Linked DNA regions of Homo sapiens: region 2 is linked to region 1. Evidence: promoter capture Hi-C in 16 types of primary human blood cells and fetal thymus (Javierre and others, 2016). All regions are on one chromosome and are shown on one strand. Each heading gives the region's core, a stretch centred on a gene start or on the middle of the fragment in contact. The rest is flanking DNA. Distances are from core to core; before and after follow the strand shown. Region 1 holds the start of RTN4IP1 (reticulon 4 interacting protein 1). Region 2 has its middle 23 kb from the start of CD24.

Evidence for each region. Contacts are between HindIII fragments. The CHiCAGO score rates a contact against its expected background, and 5 or more counts as called.
Region 2: a contact is called between a fragment that was not itself captured here and the fragment with the promoter of RTN4IP1 in region 1, in 3 of 17 cell types (total B cells, naive B cells and neutrophils). The highest score is 7.2, in total B cells.

The regions. Positions count from the first base shown.
Region 1 is chr6:106,627,887-106,634,235 of GRCh38, reverse strand. RTN4IP1 (reticulon 4 interacting protein 1) reads left to right here and starts at 4,738. Exons shown (of 9, transcript NM_032730.5): 1 at 4,738-5,488. The coding sequence starts at 5,215. QRSL1 (glutaminyl-tRNA amidotransferase subunit QRSL1) reads right to left here and starts at 4,658. Exons shown (of 11, transcript NM_018292.5): 1 at 4,531-4,658. The coding sequence starts at 4,554. RefSeq lists enhancers at 4,427-4,486, 4,517-4,656. The HindIII fragment of the contact is 4,979 bases long and covers 715-5,693 here.
Region 2 is chr6:106,994,672-107,000,625 of GRCh38, reverse strand. No RefSeq gene overlaps it. Among named protein-coding and RNA genes, the nearest start is that of CD24, 23 kb to the right of the region's middle. The HindIII fragment of the contact is 1,804 bases long and covers 579-2,382 here.

The sequences.
Region 1 (6,349 bases), core at 3,489-5,988:
GCCCTTTTGCTATTCCTTGAACATGTTAAGCTTGCTCTTGTTTTAGGGTCTTTGTACTTACTGTTCCATCTGCCTGGAACACTATTCTCTCAGATCTGCCCAGTGTTCCCCCTTCATGCCCTTCTGGTCTCTATTAAGTATTATTCACTCAATCAGAGAAATCTTCCCTGACCACTCTAGCTAAAATGTCCAGCTCCCCCAACTAGTTCTCATACTATGATCTACTTAATTTTTCTCCATAGTACTCATACTACCTGAAATTATATCATTTACTTTTTTTTTTTTTTAAAGTGTTTAATGGCTGCGTTTCCACACAAAAAAGTTAGGTTTCAGGAAGCAGGAGCTTCTGTCCGTCTTTAATGCTACCCCCCAGTACTTGGAACACAGAGGTACTCACTAAATGTTAGTTGAATGAATAACAGTTGTTTAAAATTTAGAATCGATTTCCCTATAGAACAATGATTAGTTTTTCTAAAGTTGAAGCTCCAAGAAGCCAAATGAATATATCATTCTTTAAACTTTAGGATTAATAATATTAGCCTGGTGCCTCACTCCTAGAAACACTGGGATCATGCCACAAAAGACAAAGGTAAAAGTGAGATTTCCTCCCCCTTTCTGAATGTACTTGGGTAAAATTTACAAATGGGAATTTTACCTATTTGGCATTTTACCTCCTTTTTGTGCCTATTCCCAGGACTCCTGTTACCATAAGCTTCCACTCACATCCCCCAAATTGCTGCCATCATTTCCAGCCCTTCTCCCTAATTCCCCGCAAATTTCCCCCTCTTCAACTGATTATCTCAATTAAGGTATTATGAAGAAATTTGAACTGTTATAATTTACAACAATGGGTGGAAAAATTGTTCAACCTTCCCAGGCATCTGTACATATTTAAAAGAGAATTAAATTAAAAGATAATTTGTATGAATTAATTAATCTCTAATTGGTAGAATTTAGGGCAACAGTACAGTGATGTGGAAAAAATACAAAGTAGACAGAAGGTAGTTTTAGAGCTGGGGAAATAACCACCAAATATTTTGCATGCTAGGCATTAATCAGTATTTGTTAAAGGAGTGATAAAGTAAAAGCAATCATGCCAAGGCAACCTCTGGATTTTCCCCTGGGTCAGCTCTCCTAAATAGTTCTTTTCTCCCCCCATGCGGCAAAAGTTGTTTTTCACAATGGCTAACTCAATGACACCAGAGAGAAGTAGCACTAAAAAAGGTAGCACTTAAGGAGCTATGACAGTTGTCAAAATCAAAATAGAGTGACTTGTGTTAAAATCCTGACAAATGGAGCCAAGGAAGGTCAAGAAGAGAGGGTTCTCACGCATGAATGCCTGATAAGAAGAACTATCACACTCCAGCTGACAAGGGATTGATAACCGAAGTATATAAGGAGTTCAAACAACTCAACAGGAAAAAATCCAATAATCAAATTAAAAATGGGCAAAAGATTGGAATAGACATTTCTCAAAAGAAAGACATATAAATGGCAAACTGGTATATGAAAATGTGCTCAACATCACTGATCATCAGAGAATTGCAAATCAAAACTACAATGAGATATCATCTCACTCCAGTTAAAATAGCTTCTATCCAAAAGACAGGCAATAATGAATGCTGGTGAGGATGGAGAAAAGTTGGATGAAATGTAAATTACTACAGCCACTATGGAGAATAGTATGGAGGTGCCTTAAAAACCTAAAAATAGAACTACTGGTTGGGCACAGTGGCTCACACCTGTAATCCTAGCACTTTGGGAGGCTGAGGGAGGAGGATTGCTTGAAGCCAAGAATTCAAGACCAACCTGGCCAACATAGTGAGACCCCATCTCTAAAAAAAAAATAATTAAAAATAAATAAATAAAAATAGAACTACCATACGATCCAGCAATCCCACTGCTACGTATATATGCACCTAAAAGAAAGAAAATCAACATAGCAAAGACATATCTGCTCTCTCATGTTTATTGCAGCACTATTCACAATAGCCAAGATTTGAAAGCAAGCTAAGTATCTACCAACAGATGAATGGATAGAGAAAATGTCCTACATGTACACAATGGAGTACTATTCAGCCATAAAAAGAACGAGAGCTTGTCAATTGCAACAACATGGATGGAACTGGAGGGCATTATGTTAAGTGAAATAAGCCAGGCACAGAAAGACAAACTTCCCATGTTCTCACCTATTTGTGGGAGCTAAAAATGAAAACAATTGACCTCGTGGAGGTAGAGTAGAATGATGGTTACTAGAGGCCTGAAAGGGTAGTAGTAGGGGTGGGAAGTGGGGATGGGTAATGGGTACAAAATATAGTTAGACAGAATGAATAAGATACAGTATTTGATAGCACAGCAGGTGATTACAGTCAACAATAGTTTATTGTACGTTTAAAAATAACTAAAAGAGTATAACTGGAACGTTTGTAACACAAAGAAATGATAAATGCTTGAGGTGATGGATACACCATTTACTCTGATGTGATTATTATGCATTGTATGCCTGTATCAAAATATCTCATGTGCCCCATAAATACATACACCTACTATGTACCCATTAAAATTTTTTTTTAAAAACAATCATAAGACTGCAAAAAACACAACCTTGCACAAAGGCCATTGCAACCTTCCACACACACGAGTACTTCTGTAAGAATGTCTGTCCAGCAACTGGCCATCCAACCTTGGACTGATGCCACCTTTGTGACTGATCCTTGTGGCCAAGGATAACTGATTCAAAATAATTTAAGTAATCCTTCTCATTCTGTCTTTAAAAACATCCCTTGCCTCAACCTTCTTGAATAGGCACATAGTTTACAATATTACACATATTCCCATTGCATTGCTACTCCAAAATAAATATTTTCTTTAGAGTCTCTTTCTGTTACTTAGATTGACAGTGGAAAAGGCAGAAAAAGGAAATAACATATTTTTATAGGTTGTATTTAATTTTAAAACAAGTTTTGGGTGTTGTCTGTTTATTTATTTTTATTTTATTTATTTATTTTTTGAGACGGAGTCTTGCTCTGCCGCCCAGGCTGGAGTGCAGTGGCGTGATCTTGGCTCACTGCAAGCTCCGCCTCCCGGGTTCACGCCATTCTCCTGCCTCAGCCTCCCGAGTAGCTGGGACTACAGGCGCCCGCCACTACGCCCGGCTAATTTTTTGTATATTTAGTAGAAATGGGGTTTCACCGTGTTAGCCAGGATGGTCTCGATCTCCTGACCTCGTGATCCACCCGCCTCGGCCTCCCAAAGTGCTGGGATTACAGGCGTGAGCCACCGCGCCGGGCATATTTATTTTTTAAAGAACAAATTTGATTCGACGCAATTTAAAATGATAACATAATAATGTATTTTGGGGGAAGAACTATTATTTAAAGCCTGTGGATTTCAATTTCTCATTATATATTACAGCTATCTATAATTATAATTCCACGCTGCCAGCTGGGAAACAAACAAAACGACAACTTCTAGGGTGGAATAAAAAGGAAGATGGAAGGCAGTTTAGGTCATCAGCGCCTACTTCTTACCAGAAATCACCTGGAGCCTCCATTAAACCATACTCCCGAACTTACCACACAGCTCTAATTAAGTCTAGAGTGGGGCATAGTTTTAGTTTCAACAGGTGCTTTATGTGACTCTGATAGCAATGGGCCTGCAGACAGTTCTAAGGTTGAGTGACGTGAACCAGGAAGCAAAAAGACCCGAATTAAAGCTATAACAGCAGAAATAACGTAAGAGGGCAGATTCCAGCCATATCTGCAAGATAGAATGAAGAGGGCTTAGTGATTTATTGGATATGAAAGATGAGGAAGAATCTAAAGGCAAATGAGATAATAGTTGTGCCATTAAAAAGAGTCTATTAAGAATTCAGAAATACCAGAGCTTTTTTAAGACGGGGGTTGAGAGGTAAGTCCTGTTACAATGATTACTTCAACACCGATTAAAGTGAATTTGAGGGTGCTTATGTGACATTTAGAAGAACTGCCCAGAAAGCATTCACAAATACAGTCTAGAATTCAAACACGACGTCCAGGACATGGAGACACGGGTTAGGAAATCACTGGTATCTTAGTGGTAGGTAAATCCTAGAGAACGAATTCTTTGAAAAAAGCCAAAAATTACTCATTTGAATTTTGCAAACTACAGTTTCGCCGGGCTTCTTAGCGACAACTGCAGCTAAGTGTCGGGGACAGAAGAGAGACTGAAGTGGCCCCGCAAGCCCCCTTTGGCAAAGCCCACTCCGAGACCATCCGGATCCCGACCTACACCAGAGCAAATGTCTAATGGTGAGAAGCCGCTTCACCACCCTACAGATCCGCGGTGCAGAGATTTCCCTGCTAAGGTCCTAACTCCTGAATGGGTACGGCGAGTACACCCGAAGAATCGAAAGGTACTTATCCCCCACTCAGTTCTAGAGGAAGCAGCGAGGTGGGCCAAGATGCGTGGTAAGGCCCAGGGACTCTTTGTCAACGAAGTCCGTTAAACTTTCCGCCCTCCCGGGGGCCTCAGCGGGCCAATTCCACTCACTTCTCGGAGGCTCCGGCCCAGCATGGTCCTCGTGCCCAGCCTGCCACCACAGGAGCCAGGCAAGGGGGAAAAAGAGGTCACCGGTCGCTAGTGATGTTACATGGGCGCAGCCATCTTTAATTGTCACTGAGCCCTTCAACACCGAGTACTTGGATTGGTTGAATTGCAGCCCGAGGAAATGATCTTTGTAGGCGATTGGTTGGCGCCGCAAAGCCATCCCGGCGGCTAAGGAGAGCGGGCAGGCAAGGAGATTCCGGGCCAGGGTCGCGGCGGCAGTCGGCAAGCGTTCGATTCTCTGGCGTTGGATCGCGAGCGGTGTCTGCTTGTCCCGCCGAGGGCTCCCAGGACAGGGCAGGGATCTAGGGGGTTTGCGCACCTGCTTTTTAATGCCCCGCCCCCCCTTTTTTTTTTAAAGTGGAGGGGGTGAAAGTGAGGGAGGAGAATGGACAGAATACTGACTGGAACGTTAATTCGAGCATTTCATATGCGAAGAGCGGAATAACAGTTCCGTATTCTTCTTTCAGTTTCTCCATTAGATTAGCTTCATTTTCGAATGCTCCGTTTTGCATGCTTAATTTTGAAACTAGCCCGTGGTTTGGCAGAATTTGACTGAATTCAGGGGTGAGAGTTTGATCCAGTCCAAGTGTATTTGAATTTGAGCACGCAGTTCAACCAGTGTTTACAATGGAATTTCTGAAGACTTGTGTACTTAGAAGAAATGCATGCACTGCGGTTTGCTTCTGGAGAAGCAAAGTTGTCCAAAAGCCTTCAGTTAGAAGGATTAGTACTACCTCTCCTAGGAGCACTGTCATGCCTGCTTGGGTGATAGATAAATATGGGAAGAATGAAGTGCTTCGATTCACTCAGAACATGATGATGCCTATCATACACTATCCAAATGAAGTCATTGTCAAAGTTCACGCTGCCAGTGTAAATCCTATAGACGTTAATATGAGAAGTAAGTTTTCAAAAGACATTGTTACCTTTTTTAAAAAAATCACTTTCATAAGGTATGCCGTTTTAAAAAATTGACTACGCTTCTTTGGTTTACATAAATGAATCATTTAGGTTTTTAACAATACCTCTGCAAATATTTCCAAAATTTTTGAAATTGCAATGGCCAGGGAATCCTTCTGGCCATTTGTATTGACAAAATATAAGCTTGATTGTTTTCATGCGTCCTTAAATATGTAAGTTCAGACTTGAGAACTGTGTCTGTAGCTAACTTTTTTTTTTTTGAGACTGAGTCTCACTCTGTCACCCAGGCTAGAGTGCGGTGGCCTGATCTCAGCTCACTGCAACCTCCGCATCCTGGGTTCAAGCAATTTCTCCTGCCTCAGCCTCCCGAGTAGCTGGGATTACAGGCGCATGCCACCACACCGGGCTAATTTTTTGTATTTTTAGTAGAGATGGGGTTTCACTATGTTGGTCAGGCTGGTCTCGAACTCCTGACCTCAGGCGATCCTCTGCCTCCGCCCCCTAAGTGCTGGGATTACAGACGAGCCATTGCGCCCTGCCTATGTTTGTAGCTAAATTTCTGTCCAGGGAACTTTGTGGTATTCTGAGATCCGTCACAGGCTTCGGAAGTATAGTTGTTTCCTAGTCAGTTTAGAATTTATGGGGTTTTTTGTTTGTTTTTGAGACAGAGTCTCACTCTATCGGCAGGCTGGAGTGCAAGGGCGCTTTCCTGGCTCACTGCAACCTCCGCCTTCCGGGTTCAAGCGATTCTCCTGCTTCAGCCTCCCAAGTAGCTGGGACTACAGACATGCGCCGCCACACCCAGCTAATTTTTGTATTTTTATAGAAACGGGAGTTTCAC
Region 2 (5,954 bases), core at 231-2,730, 370 kb before region 1:
TACAGATGTCCACCACCACGCCCGGTTAATTTTTGTATTTTTAGTAGAGACGGGGTTTCACCATGTTGGCTAGAATGGTCTCAATTTCTTGACATCGTAATCTGCCCGCCTCACCCTCCCAAAGTGCTGGGATTACAGGTGTGAGCCACCGCGCCTGGCCGGGAGTTTCTTTATTCCATTTCAGCAGGGCCAGAGATGTCCATGAAGGCCTTGGTGTGTGATGGAACAGACAGTTGTCTAAGGGGTGCACAATGAATGCAAGTTCTTCCCATCTCCGAGTCAAGGGTTTTCTGGGAAACAGTAGGGGATAACAACTTTCATAAATTTATACAATTATATACACTGAATTTATACGATTATGTACGTATATAATTATGTACATATTTGATTGTGTACACTGAGAAGATTAAGCCAACTCTTTCAAACTCATGGAGTTTACTTCTTGAAATTGAAAGGCCTCAGAGATAAGCCTCAGAACCAAGTTCCCTCTCTTGACTTTTCCCAGCTTTTCTGTCTCTTTGTTTCTCTTTCTTTCCCAGGAACTCTCTCTGGAATTTCCTTATCTGACTAACAAAGCTTCTTTCCAAAATAAATGCAATTATTTTAAGACCCCTCTCTCTAGGAACCTCATCAGATAGCCAGGAATGATCAACTACCCGAGAATAGAAGAGACTGGGAGTCATCACCATACCCAGATAGACTTTCCATCTATTTTTATTTTATTATGTAAATTTTAAATTATTAGTAAAAAAAACCTTTTTTTTTGAGACAGAGTCTTGCTCTGTTGCCCAGGCTAGAGTGTGCGATCTTGGTTCACTGCAACTTCTGCCTCCTGGGTTCAAGCTATTCTCCTGCCTCAGCCTCCCAAGTAGCTGGGATTACAGGCACCTGCCACTGTGCCCGGCTCATTTTTGTATTTTTAGTAGAGATGGGGTTTCACCATCTTGGCCAGGCTGGTCTCGAGCTCCTGACCTTGTGATCCACCCGCCTTGGCCTCTCAAAGTGCTGGGATTACAGGCGTGAGCCACCGCTCCCGGCCAAAAAAAATTTTTTTTGAGACAGCAGCTCACTCTGTCAACCAGTGTGGAGTACAGTAGCGAGATTACAGCTCACTGCAGCCTCTACCTTCCAGGGTCAAGCAATCCTCCTAACTCAGCCTCCACCACTTCAGCCTCCAGAGTAGCTGGGACTACAGCTGTGTGCCTGGCTTTTGTGTTTGTGTGTATGTGTGTGTGTGTGTGTGTGTGTGTGTGTGTAGACACAGGGTTTTGTCATGTTGCCCCGGCTGGTCTCAAACTACTGGGCTGAAAGGGCCCTCCTACCTCAGCCTCCCAAAGTGCTGGGTTAAAGGTGTGAGCCACTGTACGCAGCCTTCAACTATTCTTCTTCTTTTTTTTTTTTTTTTGAGACGGAGTCTCCCTCTGTCACCCAGGTTGGAGTGCAGTGGCTTGATCTTGGCTCACTGCAACCTCCAATTCCCAGGTTCAAGTGATTATCCTGCCTCAGCCTCCCCAGTAGCTGGGATTACAGGCACTTGCATCCACACTGGCTAATGTTTGTATTTAGTAGAGACAGGGTTTCCCCATGTTGGCCAGGCTGGTCTCAAACTCCTGACCTCAGGTGATCTGTCCGCCTCGGCCTCTGAAAGTGCTGGGATTGCAGGGGTGAGCCACCGAACCAGGTGGAGCTTTTAACTATTCTTCTGACAGCAGCCCTGAGAGATTGCCTGGGAGACTTTATCTGCATAATAAGACAACATTGATGGTCTGGGCGGTGGCTCATGTGTGTGTGTAATCCCAGCACTTTGGGAGACTGAGGCAGGTGGATCACCTGAGGTCAGGAGTTTGAGACCAGCCTGACCAACATGGTGAAACCCCGTCTCTACTAAAAATACAAACATTAGCCGGGCGTTGTGGTGCGCACCTGTAGTCCTAGCTACTGGGGAGGCTGAGGCAGGAGAATTGCTTGAACCCGGGAGGTGGAGGTTGCAGTGAGCCAAGATCATGCCACTGCACTCCAGCCTGGGTGACAGAGTGAGACTCTGTCTCAAAAAAAAAAAAAAAAAAAAAGAACACTTGTTCACAGTAATAGTCCACCCCTCACCTTCCTGCCGCCTTCCCCAGTGCTCAAAGGAACTTTGTCCCCAGCCATCGTTCTTTGGCTCATTCATTTCCTTTGGAAATCATTTACTCCTACAACCCCTGTCTCCCTTTCCCCATGGAGAAGAATATAAGCAGCCGGGCCTCATCGGGTTACTGGGTAATCATAGTCTTGTGATTTTCTTCTATGCACATTAAGTAAATTTCGTATGCCTTTTTCTCCTGTGTATCTGCATTTCATCAGTTTATGCTCTGCAAACCTTCAGTGGGCAGAGAGAAAGCTTTCCCTCTGCCCCCAGTGTGGCAACAGGCCTGACTGGGGCAATGCTGCTGCCTTGCTTTTGACGCCCCCCACACACGACCGCGTCCCCCTTTCTGCTCTGTGGAACGCCTCCAGCCCCTGCTGAGGCTGGCTTGCCCATGGCAGAATGTCACCTCAGGTTGGGGGCCTTTCAAAATGCACCCCAGAGAGCTCTCCTGGGAGCCCACGTCTGGAACGTAGAGCTGAGTGTCTCTGGCTGACGTTGGAGGATGGGCAGGCTGCCCATGATGCAGCCCCTTTCCTGCTCTGGCACAGCCTTGACCTTTAAATTTCTCATTCTTTTTTCTTCTTCCACTAAACTCTAAGAGATAAGTGTTTGTCTCTCCCGTTATTCCCCTAAGAGCACCTCTCACTGGACTGGGGTGAGGAGAAAGCGCCTTTGCTCTGCAGTTCCTGCAGGGGGCGCTTGGCACCTCACTTTGGAACCTGAGAACTTGTTTTGTTGAAGGCCTTTGAGCTTCGGTTGAAATGGAGACAGAAAGGACTTCCATGTTCACATCCTGTTACACTCTCCAGCATAAATATGATCATTTTCATTTTACAGGAGGCTCAGAAAGGCAAGTCTGTGGTGGAAGTGGGTGAGCTGAAATCTGAGCTCAGGTCTGCTTGATCCTGTAGGTTACAGATGAGACAGAAATGATATGCCCTGTTGTACCCAGGGTGGCCACATCTGAGGCTCTAAGACAAATAAAAAATTACCACCATAGTGGAAAGATTAAATTCTCATGTACAACCAAATCAAAGTCTTCATATACAGTTAGAATAAAACACAAATTTCAGAAGAATGACCCACATACGTGTCGGTTTATTAGTGAGTGAAGATGTGTTTTAGAAACTGGTTATATAAATCAAAAAACTACCATCGAAGGGCTCTAAGATTAGCCAGGAGGCTTAATAGTATCCTAATTTAAGAGTTACTTGAAGATATTTTCTAAGATTGCTGTTTCTGTTGAGATATAAAATGGCTCTTAGCCTAGGATGTTAATAAATTCAAGATAAAGTGAGTAGGCGGAGTTAGAGTAAAAGGTGGCCTTCCTCTCATTGTGCTTGGATTCTGGTGGTTCCTGTGTAGAAATTCATTTGCTGAGGACTTATTATGTACTAGGCACTTTACTAGGTACTGGGGAAAGGAAGATGAACATGATGTGGTTCCTTTCTTTAAGGAGCTCAGCTGGTGAGGAAAAAGCTGCAATCCCTGTTACACGTACAATGACAGAGGAAAGCTTGGGGACTTGGGGGATGCAGGGGTGGACACTTCAGAAAGGCCCTAACCAAGGCTGAAGGGTAAGGGATGGCTTTCCAAGGAGATGACACTAATCTGGGTCCTGAGAAATGCATAGAAATCATCCAAGCAAAGAAAGACCTTGGCTTGCGTTCTTCCTTGTGTTGTGCTGGGCCCCCAAACAGGCAAACTGGGAAGGCACAGTCACCGAGAGACCGAAGAAAAGACCTGAAGACAGTGGGTAAGACATAGAGTTTAGGGCGGGCATGGTGGCTCACACCTGTAATCCCAGCACTTTGGGAGGCTGAGAGGGGCAGATCACCTGAGATCGGGAGTTTGAGACCAGCCTGATCAACATGGAGAAACCTGGTCTCTACTAAAAATACAATATGAGCTGGGCATGGTGGCGCACGCCTGTAATCCCAGCTACTCAGGGGGCTGAGGTAGGAGAATCACTTGAACCCAGGAGGCAGAGGTTGCAGTGAGCCAAGATTGTGCCATTGCACTGCAGCCTGGGCAACAATAGTGAAACTCCATCTCAAAAAAAAAAAAAAAAAAAAAGACAGAGTTTATTCAGGGGACTTATGTATGGAGTGTCCAAGAGTGGAAGGCTGGACAGGAGTTCCACTGCCTTTTGTGGAAAGCATGCAGGTTAGTAGGAACTCCCACACAGCAACCTCTACTTAGCAACCTCCACCTAGCTTAAAACAAAGGCCATTGATTTATTTTTTTTTCTTTTTTTGAGAAGGAGTCTTACTCTGTCTCACAGGCTGGAGCACAGTGGTGCCATCTTGGCTCACTGTAACCTCTGCCTCCTGGGTTCAAGCGATTCTCATGCCTCAGCCTCCCGAGTAGCATGGTGGGCACGTGCCACCATGCCCGGCTAATTTTTGTATGTTTTTTAGTAGAGATGGGGTTTCACCATGTTGGCAAGGCTGGTCTCGAACTCCTGACCTCAAGTGATCTGCCTGCCTTGGCCTCCCAAAGTGCTGGGATTACAGCCGTAAGCCACTGTGCCCAGCCTAGGCCACTGGCTTCTTGTATGACTTGTGTTCCAAGGAACGAGGCCAGGGTCCAGGTGTTCTTCATGCCCCCATCTGTGTCCCTGCTCTGAGCCTTCACACCTTCATAAGTACAGCGTAAACATCCAGGTTGGCCTCTCCCAGAGTCCATAGCTCAGAACAGTGAACAAACATTCACCAAAGAACATAGGGTCAGCCATGTATGGCAGCTCATGCCTGTAATCTTAGCACTTTGGGAGGCTGAGGCAGGAAGATCATTTGAGCCCAGCAGTTCAAGACCAGCCTGGGCAACACAGTGAGACCCCTGTCTCAAACAAACAAACAAACAAACAAACAAACAAACGGCCTGGTACAGTGGCTCACACCTGTAATCCCAGCACTTTTGGAAGCTGAGGCAGGCAGATCACCTGAGCTCTGGTCTCATTCGAGACTAGCCTGGGCAACATGGTGAAACCCAATCTCTACCAAAAATACAAAAATTAGCCCAATGCGGTGCTGTGCACCTGTAGTACTGGCTACACGGGAGGCTGAGGCAGGAGAATCACTTGAGCCTGGGAGGTGGAGGTTGCAGTGAGCTGAGATCGCACTATTACACTCCAGCCTGGGTGACAGAGTGAGACTTTGTCTCAAAAAAACAAAGAAAGAGAACCTGGGGTCATTCTCAGGGTATGCTTGAATTATTGTTATCTGGCAAGACATCCCCACCATATACCCTGAAGGATTTTTTTTTTTTTTTTTTTGAGATGGAGTCTTGCTCTGTTGCCCAGGCTGGAGTGCAGTGGCGCGATCTTGGCTCAATGCAAGCTCCGCCTCCCGGGTTCACACCATTCTCCTGCCTCAGCCTCCTGAGTAGCTGGGACTACAGGCGCCCGCCACCATGCTCGGCTAATTGTTTTGGATTTTTAGTAGAGACGGGGTTTCACCGTGTTAGCCAGGATGGTCTCGATCTCCTGACCTCGTGATCTGCCCCTTGGCCTCCCAAAGTGCTGGGATTACAGGCATGAGCCACCGTGCCCGGCCTACCCTGAAGGATTTTAAACAGATCAATGAAATGATCAGATTTGCATTTTAGAACTACTTACCTGGGAAGCATTGAAAAAGGGCATCACTGAAGGCTGAAAAAACAGGAGATTAACTAATAACCTTTGCAAGAAATGTTGAAGAACTGAACCAAGGCAGTGGCAGCATGGATGGAAGGGGAAGGATAGTTAAGGTAGAATCAATAGGTCTTTGTAATGGATTAAAAAAAGAGAATTAGGCAAGTTAGGATTAAGTTTGGCTGTTCATGA